Regions from separate parts of the Homo sapiens genome. Here regions 1 and 2 are each linked to region 3. Evidence: promoter capture Hi-C in 16 types of primary human blood cells and fetal thymus (Javierre and others, 2016). All regions are on one chromosome and are shown on one strand. Each heading gives the region's core, a stretch centred on a gene start or on the middle of the fragment in contact. The rest is flanking DNA. Distances are from core to core; before and after follow the strand shown. Region 1 overlaps MYO5B (myosin VB). Region 2 overlaps MYO5B (myosin VB). Region 3 holds the start of DYM (dymeclin).

The links. The method cuts DNA at HindIII sites, captures the fragments that hold promoters and counts their contacts. A CHiCAGO score of 5 or more calls a contact.
Region 1: a contact is called between a fragment that was not itself captured here and the fragment with the promoter of DYM in region 3, in 2 of 17 cell types (megakaryocytes and total CD8 T cells). The highest score is 5.3, in megakaryocytes.
Region 2: a fragment that was not itself captured here is called in contact with the fragment with the promoter of DYM in region 3 in 3 of 17 cell types (megakaryocytes, endothelial precursors and erythroblasts); the score reaches 7.6 in megakaryocytes.

What each region holds. Positions count from the first base shown.
Region 1 is chr18:49,843,431-49,846,730 of GRCh38, forward strand. All of the region lies in intron 33 of MYO5B (myosin VB), which reads right to left. The region is part of intron 3 of SNHG22 (small nucleolar RNA host gene 22); the gene reads left to right. Among named protein-coding and RNA genes, the nearest start is that of SNHG22, 31 kb to the left of the region's middle. RefSeq lists enhancers at 2,019-2,520, 3,243-3,300. The HindIII fragment of the contact is 454 bases long and covers 1,403-1,856 here.
Region 2 is chr18:49,860,158-49,863,553 of GRCh38, forward strand. MYO5B (myosin VB) reads right to left here. Exons shown (of 40, transcript NM_001080467.3): 29 at 3,070-3,170. Among named protein-coding and RNA genes, the nearest start is that of SNHG22, 48 kb to the left of the region's middle. The HindIII fragment of the contact is 3,467 bases long and covers 315-3,396 here.
Region 3 is chr18:49,459,228-49,462,969 of GRCh38, forward strand. DYM (dymeclin) reads right to left here and starts at 1,418. Exons shown (of 18, transcript NM_001353214.3): 1 at 1,171-1,418. RefSeq lists a silencer at 817-1,396. The HindIII fragment of the contact is 8,649 bases long and covers 1-3,742 here.

The DNA of each region.
Region 1 (3,300 bases), core at 380-2,879, 380 kb after region 3:
ATGGGGGACAATGGAGGCTGTCAGAATCCTCATCTGAATAGACGTGTTTTCAATATTTCCCCATAGCTCATCTAGGAATAGATGTCTCAAAGAGGATTGGGAGAGAAGCCACCCAGGGTACCCAAACTCCCGAGCATGCCTACCAGTAGTTTCAGACACTGTGGTTAAAAACACAAACAAACAAAACCACATTCCTAATTGTCTGCACTATAACCCTGAAACAGGCTTCTAATGCCTCAGCCTAACAATATGGAGGAAAAGTGCCTGCAAGTTACACAGATGCCTCAGTCCGCAGCCAACAGGGGCCCATGGCAAGTGGAAGGCTGAGGACAGGGCCTAGCTCCCACATGGGGGCAGGAACTCCTGATTCGTGGGCACCACCACTTCCAGAAGGCAAGGGCTGGCTCCAGAATTAGACAAATTGTATGTGCCCAAAGACAGGGCCAGCCTGCTGAGGGCTAGGGAGGTTGGAACAATCTCTGGCCCATCAGTTCAGGAACAAATTACCCAGCCGTGCTTGCCCAGCTTCACAGCCAAATAGATCAGGCAGGCCCCCCTTCCCCACCCCGGTGCTGCTGCTTGGCATGCATCTCTCCAGCGGCTCTCTTACTTCCCCCAACTGCTCTCCTCTGTATCCCACACTCCTGTCCCTGCCTGGGCAAGGGCTGCTCTGGCTGGACTGGAAGGGCCTTGTGAGTCTCCCCATTAACTGCAGACTCAGCCCTTTGGCCCTTTCTTGCAAAAGGCCCTGGAGGGACAGGAAGCAGCTGTCAGACCATTTTCTATTCCAGACCATGCCAGCTGAGCCAGACTTAAGGCAACAGGTGGTGGTAGAAGGCCAGAGAACTAGGGGGAAAGGCCTGGTGCAAAGGCAAGATGACAGGTGAGAATGGGGCAGGAGCACAAGGCCCCAGGGGTCTCACCATAGCTCTGCACTGTATCTCCAGCCCTTGTTCTTTACACTCATACCCTCCCAAACGAGGCCTCATGAGCCACCTGTAGGCTCAGAATGGCAATGAAGGGAGGCCACCTCCCTCCCACCTGCAGGTGGGCAGTATCCTTGCAAACCTTCTACCAGGCTGGTCCTGGGCTGGGCTCTGCTGCCAGCAGCTCCAGTTGGTACTTGGGTTACATTGTCCCTGCTCCAACGCATCCTTCTAGTTAAATGATAACTGTAGGCCATAATACTCTTGAGTACATGGTTGACATTTGGCCATTTTATAGGTCCAGCAGATGGCTGTGGATTGGCCATTGGCTCTAGTTAGAATGCCAGTCATTTATCCAGGAAAATGTATTTTGTAGGCCCAGACTTCCAATCCATAACTTCTTACTTCAAACCTGATCCATGTGCAGATTGCAAACAACTTGTCCTGTCTTGGAATGTTCTATTGTGATTAAATAAAGCTTGTTTGGGTGCCCCAGCTAAATGTTAGCATCTTGGGGAAGAGACGATGACACTAGTTTTATTTCTCCTCCACAGCAACTGGCCAGTGCCAGGTACCTAAGAGGTAGGTGGTCGGCAGTCAAGTTTTGGCATTTGTTTGGATGGGGTCTTTTGGAGGGAAGATGACTGCAGGATTTTCCTAGGTAGCTCAGCAGGAGATGACCTTTCCTGGGGCCACCTGAGCAAGGGTCATCTCATGCTGATGGCAGGGTTTTCTCTGTAAAAACCCTGGCAAATGGCAGGAGGGAGCCACCTGTCTGACACAAGCAGCCTTATTTATTGAAAGTTTCATTCACCAGAGATGAAAGGTTTGTTCCTAATTGCATTTGAACAAGATGCAGTCTGTTTAAGGAAGTTTAAGATAAACTTACACCACATTTAATTAATTGCTGGACAACTGTAGGGGAGATTAAGCTTTTTAAAAGAGCAAAATACATCTAAGAAGCAGGCTACTAAAAACACACAAACCAAACAGCTGGAGCAAATCTGTTTAAGGCAGATGTCACAATCTGTTCTTCCTGGGTCCCTCGGCCCTAGGCACAGTGCTCAGCAGAGTCGGACTTCAGTCTTACATAAGTTTCTCTAAAATAATGCTTGCCTTGCCTCTTATTTGAACTTCAAATATTCCTGCAAAAGCTACCACTCCTTTGAAAGCCTCACATTTGAGAAGGGTTTTGCAGTTTTAACACAGCATTTCGCCTTTGACACACTTCACATCATGGGGCAGGCAGGTCAGTGTCATCATCCCATTTCACTAAGGTGCCATAAAGAAGGGAGCTGCTGGCTCAGGGTCCAGAGGATCAGACCACCAAAGATTTCTCCTCTTTCCCACAGGACTCTCTCCTCTAAGACTCTTCCTGGCTCTGCAGGGGGATGCTGGACTGGGTTGGTACAGAGCAGGGAGGTGGCCTGTTGCAGTGGCCTGTGGCAGATGGGGCACAAGACTGGAGGGGAGGGAGCTGGTACGACTGGCAAAGCAGCACTGGGCACAAACCTGAGCAAGCTGCACAGGTCACACAGACTCCCTCCTGGCCCTTGCTGAGCAGCCAAGAGGGACTCGGAGGGGTGGCGGGGGCTCCTCTTTTCACAGAGAAAACCCTGCCCTCTTGGCAGCTAGTGTGGAAGGTCTTTCAGTCCTAGGAGCCCAGCTGGGGAAGGAATTCTGAGCAGTGGTTCTCACAGCTGCCTGGTGGCCCCAGGGAGCACATGGGGGTGGGAGGCTGGCAGGCCAGCCCTGATTCAGCCACATGCCTGGATAAGAAACTGCAGATGATCGCAGGGACAGTAAAAGCCAACCCTGATGAACTTTGACAGTGGGACCAGGGTGATCCCAGACAGACTGCAGAAGCTCAGCATTCCTCACTTTAATGAGCCTGTGAATGTCACCTGGCATCTTGTTATGTGCCTTGCAATTGAGGAGGCCTGGCACGGAGCCCGAGACTCTGCATCTCTCACCCCTTCCCAGGGGTGATACTGATGCTGATGCTGATGCTGCTGGTCCAGGGACCATGTATGAGCAACGAAATACGAACTTTCATTCTCACAACTCCATGCCAGCGGCATGATCCCCTTTCCTGTGCTCTACACAAGAACACTGGTGAGTAGCACAGCCACGGCCATGTGCGGCTAGTTAGGAAAGAAGCCAGGTCTGAACACAGCCCATGTGATTCCAGAGACCACACCCACATGTGCTGTACCACACAGCACTTTAAACTGTAAAGTCCTAACCAAACAGAAGGAGTCTGAATCCTTGATCCACTGCTTCCCAGCTGTGTGACCTGGGCAAGTTACTAGAGTGAGTCTCTGTTTCCTTCAGTGTAAAATGAGAAAGCAGCAGTTCTGACTTAAAGGGAGGT
Region 2 (3,396 bases), core at 798-3,297, 400 kb after region 3:
AGGCTTGGGTAGAAGTGGACAGGAATCAAAGGAGCACTGTCAAAGAGCCAGACCAGAGCCCTGGCCACACTCCTGCCCCTACCTAACTCTGACTTTAAGTGCTCACCCCGAGGTGAGGTTGGGCTGAGGGCAGTGGCAACTTGTGCCCTCCTAAACCACTTCCCCATCCTTCTCCCATATACAGCCCTGAAAAGAAGACAAACTGCCCAGCACCCAGCTCATGTTCACAGCCCTCTTCCCCCTTCATTTTCCTATATATAAAATGGTGATAATGATGCTGGTGTCTCTTAGTTCCCAGAGGTAAAAAAGGAGAAAGCTTTGTGGAAGCAGAAGTGCCACCCGCATTCCTGCAGCTCCTCTCAGAGCAGCTCCTCAATAATAGCTTCTCTCCCCAGAGTTCAAAACAAGGGAAAAGACACAGTTATAGGGACCAAAACAAAACTCTACAAACTTATGAAGGTTAGCAAGTGATAAAAGTTCTGAACTTGAGGATCATGAATGCTTAAAGAGGCTATGACTGGGAATGTGATGGAAGCCCCCAGAAATCTAAGCAAAATTCAGCATATGAGTGTAACTTCCTCTAGGGAGAGGATAGATGTCATCAAAATTCTAAATGGTCTTTCACAAATCACACATGTGTAGATATAATTTATATTTAAACAGTAGAACTCTCCATTACAGGAAAACTGTAGGAAACGCAGAGCAGCTGTCTATCTCCAAAGCACCCCAGTTGCCAGGGTGGCCCTCATGGTAATGGGAATCCCCTTGTCATGGGCTCCACAGAATCCCAGTTGGGTCCCTGTTCCCTGCCTCTCCTCCCTCAATGCTGGGATTTGCAGCAATCATGAACACTTCCCAAAGCTAAAGGCCAGACTGGGAGAGAGGCAGGCCCACCATGGCCACTTCCACAGCACCTGGTGCAGCACACACTGCGAAGCTGGCTCTTCAGGCCTCCACTCCCCAGGGCAGCCAGCTCCTTTTCTGTACTTAACTCAGTTTCACAGGCTATTAATTTCCTATTGTACACCAGGCTTGCTGGGAACAGAATTATTTTAAGATATAATAAAAGCTATTTTTATTTTATCACCATCATTATTATTGCTGTAAAGGAAGACAAATCCAGGGTATTAAGCAGCCCCTGGGAAAACCTAAACTGGGGTCTGGATCCCTGACAACCGCTGCATGAATAAAAGAGGCTGCCAATGGTGACGGCTCTGAAGATCGGGGAGATACGCACACCGCTTGTCAGACCAAGCACACAGCTGCTTCTTCCCTTCTACTTTAGTATCACCTGGGCTTTTTCTTATTCATCTCATTTCTTATCTTCAACCCAAGATAATTTAAAATGACTAAATCTTGACTCCAGTTTTAGCACTGAGAGAGTCACCTTCATTCCTTTTCTCCCTCCTTTAGGGAAAAGAATTATACCTCTCTTGAAATAAATTTAATTTCCTCCTGGAGCCTGTGACACCACCTTCAACTTCTGATTACCTACTCAGTGGCTGGAAACTGCCCCAGCCTGAGTCAGGCCTTCCGGATTCTACCTTGACTCAGGCACAGGCCACCCGTGGGCCTAAGCTGTTCCACCCCCCCGGGCCTCAGTCTCCTTCTCTGCAGAAAGAGGGACTGGATGAAAAGATCTGGGAATCAAAGTACCAGAAGTCTTCAGTGACTCTGTGACATTCTTGCAAAAAAACTTAAAGTGGCACTCACAGTGCCACCTAATGACATTTTTGGGAAATGTTTGCTATTTTCACCAATTTTGAACAAATACTTGATCAACATTCTATTAGTTGAGGTAAGAGAGAAAGGTAGCCAGGGAAGAGGCCAGCTCCATGTTTTTTTTTTTTTTTTTTGGAGACACAGTTTTGCTCTCATTGCCCAGGGTGGAGTGCAATGGCATGATCTCGGCTCATTGCAACCTCCGCCTCCTGGGTTCAAGCAATTCTCCTGCCTCAGCCTCCTGAGTAGCTGGGATTACAGGCACCCGCCACTACGCCCGGCTAATTTTTGTATTTTTAGTAGAGACAGGGTTTCACCACATTGGCCAGGCTGGTCTCAAACTCCTGACCTCAGGTGATCTGCCCATCTCAGCCTCCCAAAGTGCTTAGATTACAGGTGTGAGCCACTATGCTCGGCCAGACAGCTCCGTTTTTATAGGTGCCCACAGGGGCATGAGGAAGCAGATGATAACAACAGTATCACGGCAGTAACACTCATCATGTGCGCACCACAGGCAGGCACTGTCCTAAGTCCCTTACACAGGTGATAGGAGCTCACCCCATCTTCCCAAAGCCACAGGAAGGATGCCGCTATGGCTGTCCCCAGTTCACAGATGAGGCAACTGAGGCACCTATCGGTCATGTGACCGCTACTAAACCGTGAGGAGTGGACTCTGCAGTGCACCTTCTCAGACACTCTGCCTTGGGGGTCTGCGTTCTGTCTGCTGACAACGCTTGGCCCTGCTGCTGCCCTCAGACAATCACTCTTGCTTGCCTTAACCCTGGCTCAGCTTATTTTCGAGGGGACAGTGGTTGCTAAACTCACATCCAGGGAGATCTCATTTTGGCTAAGACGGTGGAGGTGAAATGCTTCCATTCCACCCCCAAGTGCCCAGCTTGGGTTCCATCTGTTCTGAATGACAGAGGGTGGGCCCCCACTGTGTGACACACACTGCATGCATGAGAAGGGCATTGCAGCAGATGGCTAAGCAGCCCTCTGCTGCCAGTTAGCCACCCCCCACCCCCCTCCCCAGCCAGCATCCTCTCAAGAAGAAAAGCTGTTCTCAGCCAGACCTTCCTATTCCACTCCTGTCATCCTCCCAGGGAAGCTCCTTTTTCCTAATCCTTTTCAGGGGACCTGGGCTCTAGATGCTGAGAGCGTGTTGCTCGAGCCTTGCTGAGCTAACAGTAGGGCAGGGGTTCTGAGTCAGTCTTTCTGTGTCCTCTAATAAATAATTCTCTGATGCTGAGCACATGGTCATCACCTGAGGAAAACCCCAAACAGACTCGTTTGGGCAGGGCCCTTCTCCGCGGCCTCGTCCAGCACATTTGACCGCGGCGGCCTTACCTGTTTGTCTGGCAGACCCCGTGATAGGCCTCAATGGCATCCTCCTGGTCAACATGCTTTTCACTGTTAGGCCAACTTGATCTGGCATTAATGTTCGGCTCCTAGAAAGCCCCAGATAAAAAAATAACTCTGGTTAAACAATTGCCACAAAATGGCTTTATATACAAACAGGTATAAAAACATGCCTTTGGGAAAAGACAAAGGCCTGGAAAGAACAGAGATAACCACAATCAAACCCACGCCAGGAACATGACTCCAAAAGGTCATCTTGGAAGAGACACAGAACAACGAGGCCAGGCTGAGACAGAGCTGCATGTGGGGCGGTGG
Region 3 (3,742 bases), core at 168-2,667:
CTATGTACTCAGTTTATGAGCTTAAGGCAGACACCTAACCTCTAAAAGACTAGTTCTTCATTTACAGAATGGGAATATTCATACTTGTCCGGTCTATCTCCAAGTTGCTGAGAGGATTATCTAAAATAAAACTTCAAAGCAGGATAATCACTCCAGAAATCCATATATTCATAAATTTCATCCTCTGCAACAACCATTCACCCATTCCTATAGATTCTCTTCCCTTCCACCTCGTTCTTCTCTTGAGCCCTCAACTCATCAGCCTAAGCACCTGAGTTCCTCTGGTGGACGCTACATTCCTCTCCACGGCCTCCACCCTCCAGGTTTTCATCCTTCAGCACATCACCCTTGCTCTACACACCCCTCTCTCCAACTTCCCCTCTCCTCTTTCAAGGAACTCACTCCATCTGTGCCCCCTAATCAGTCTATCCTGGGTACCCGCTTTGCTGGCCGATTACAATCATCCCATCACTTCTCTACCCCTGTTCAGTAGAGAACAGCTTTATCCAATCAGCTTTACCACACCAATACCCTCAAACCCCACTACTGCCCCCAGTTCACAAACACCCACCCTTTCACTTTTCAGTCAAAACACAATTGCTCAGGCAAATCCACGGCGACTGAAAGTAGATCAATAGTGTAGGGGAGAGAAGGAGGAGTGACTGCTAATGGGTACGAGCTTCTTTGGGGCGGGGGGGGCGGTGATTAAAAATGCTCTGGAGTTAAGGGTGGTGATGGCTGCTCAACCCTGTGAATATACTAAAAACCACTGAGTTGTACTTTTAAAGGGTTAATTTTCTGATATGTTAGTTATACCTCGATAAACTATGAATGTAAAAAGAAGAAAGAAAAACCCAACAGCTATTGCTCACCCTGCCCATCACACGCCCATTTGTCAGACCAACACCGCCCCATCTCCGGAAGCACCGACTTGGCCTTCGGTATCCCCCAACTCCCAACAGCGGACTCGGACAGAGGTCCGTCCGCTGTCAGCACAGCCCCTCCGGGTGGCCCAGGCGCCCGCGGGCAGGGAAGGGAGGGTCCCTTCGCCGCCGCCCCGGGGCGCTGGCCGGGTTGCGGAGGGTGGCCCCTGACCCCCTCTGACAGGAGGCCGGGGACAGCCAGGCTTTCGGGCCCGGCCGCGCTGAGGGGGGCGGCGCTACAGCCCACCTGTCTCAGCCGGCTGGGGGATCTGCTCCAGCTCCACGGACCCGCGGACGGATGGGAGGGTGGCAGAGGGGTCAGGAGAAGTCGCTGTCGCCGCCGCAGCCCAGGTGGCGCACACCGGCTCAGGCCTCCATGTTTCCACGTCTCAGCGGGTACAGATCCGGCTCCGGTCCGGCCTGCAGCTCGGCCCCGGCTCGGCTCCAGCCCGGGCCGCGTCGGTGCGGAGGCCAGGAGGCGGCGAGAGAAGAGGGAAGCGACCGAGAACGCGGCTAGGGACCAGACCCCCAGGCGCGCGCGCCAGCCAGGTGGTCACGTGGCACGCGGCGCGCGCGGGCTTCTGGAAACTGTAGTCCTTTGGGTGTTATTCGTGCCTCCGCCCTCCTAGTACCTCCTGGGCTACCGCAAAGCCACGTGGCGAAATCGAGAAGCGCAAAAACAGCCGTGCGCGGTGGCTCACGCCTGTAATCCCAGCACTTTAGGAGGCCGAGGTGGACGGATCACGAGGTCAGGAGATCGAGACCATCCTGGCCAGCATGGTGAAACCCCGTCTCCACTAAAAATACAAAAAGTAGCTGTTTGAGACAGGATAATCGTTTGAACCCGAGAGGCGGAGATTGCAGTGAGTCAAAAAGTAGCTGTCTGAGGCAGGAGAATCGTTTGAACCCGAGAGGCGGAGATTGCAGTGAGTCGAGATCGGGCCACTGCACTCCAGCCTTGCGACAGAGCTCGACTCTTCTCAAAAAAAAAAAAAGAGAGAGAGAGAGAAGCGCAAAAACCTCACCTGCCGGGTGCTAGAGTCAACCTCACCTGCCAGGTGCTAGAGTCCTCGCTCATGCTACACCGCTCGTTCTGGCGGCTTAACCTTATTAAGGCCTCTGTTAATTGCAGCTGAATAACCATCCCAAAGTCAAGCAATATTGTGTGGGATTCTGGAGAATTGAGAAATAGCAAAATAATTTTTGATGGAGGCAGCTGGCAGGGCTAGCCCTGCCTGCAAAGTTGTCGGAAAGGACAGGTCCCACGGGAAAGAGTAGCAATATGAGATAGTGCCAAAACTATGGAATTTGAAGTCAAATGAGCTGAGGTTTCCACACTGACGTCTTTGAGCAATTACTTCACCTCTCTCAGCCAGTTTCCTCACCTAAAATATATGCATGATGATGATTCTGCCATTACAGGAAATGTTGACATGACTGTAGTAATAACAATTCACATTATGGATTATTTTCTATTTGCCATGCACTATTATTTCGCAAAATGACCCTATGGAACAGATAGCACCGTTATTCCCATTATATAGTCAATATGTGCCAGTGTACTCTGTAAAGTACTATACAAATATTAGGTATTCTTTTCTAGCATAGACTGCCAGTAAATTCACTGAGCTTGCAGAATTATGACAGGAAAACATATTAAAACCCAAAGTAGACTGGGCCCTGTGGCTTATGCCTGTAATCCCAATACTTTGGGAGGCTAAGGTGGGAGGATCACTTGAGCCCAGGAGTTCGGAAGGACCAGCCTGAGCAACATAGCGATACACTGTCTCAACAAAAAATACAAAAATTAGCTGGGAGTGGTTGGCACACCCTCGGTCCCGGCTACTCGGGAGGCTGATGTGGGAAAATCGCTTGAGCCCGGGAGGTTGAGGCTTCAGGGAGCCATAATCTCACCATTGCACTCTACCCTGGGCAACAGAACGAGACACTGTCTCAAAAAAAAAAAAAAACCCCAAACTACCTAACTAAAAAGCCATAGACACTACTATGCAGTCATTGTAAAGAATGCTATGGATGCATATTTATTTGAAAACATTTTCATGATACACTGAGTGGAAACATATATAGTATCAAATTTTCATAAGTGAATTATATTAGGTTGGTGCAAAACTAATTGTGGTTTTGCCACTTAATATAATATTTATATTAATATATTAAATGATATATTAATATAACATATGTAATATATGTTTACTATAATATTTATAATACCTATGTATATGTGCTGTTGGAAAAAAGACAAATAATATTAACAATATTGCAACTTTGGGTAATGAGATCCTGTGTGGTTAAAATTAGTTTTTCCCTATGTTTTCTAATTTTTCTGCAAGGAATATGAAGTACATGTACAATTTTATTTTAAAATTACAGCAAAAAGAGACTCAGGGCTGGGCGTGGTGACTCATGCCTGTGATCCCAACACTTTGGGAGGCCGAAGCAGGCAGATCACCTGAGGTCAGCAGTTTGAGACCAGCCTGCCCATCATGGCGAAACCCCGTCTCTACGAAAAATACAAAATTAGCCAGGCATGCGCCTGTAGCCCCAACTACTCAGGAGGCTGATGCAGGAGAATCACTTGAACCCAGACGGTGGAGGTTGCCACGAGCCGAGATCATACCCCTGTACTCCAGCCTGGGTGACAGAGCCAGACTCTGTCTCAAAAAAATAAAAAATAAAAAAAGAGACTCAGGCATGAAAACCTAACTCAAAATATTTTTTAATATTGCCTGGCACACAGTCTACTTTCCCCAGACTGACTCAGCAACAGTTGTGAGCATCTCCTCAAAACTGGCTTTATA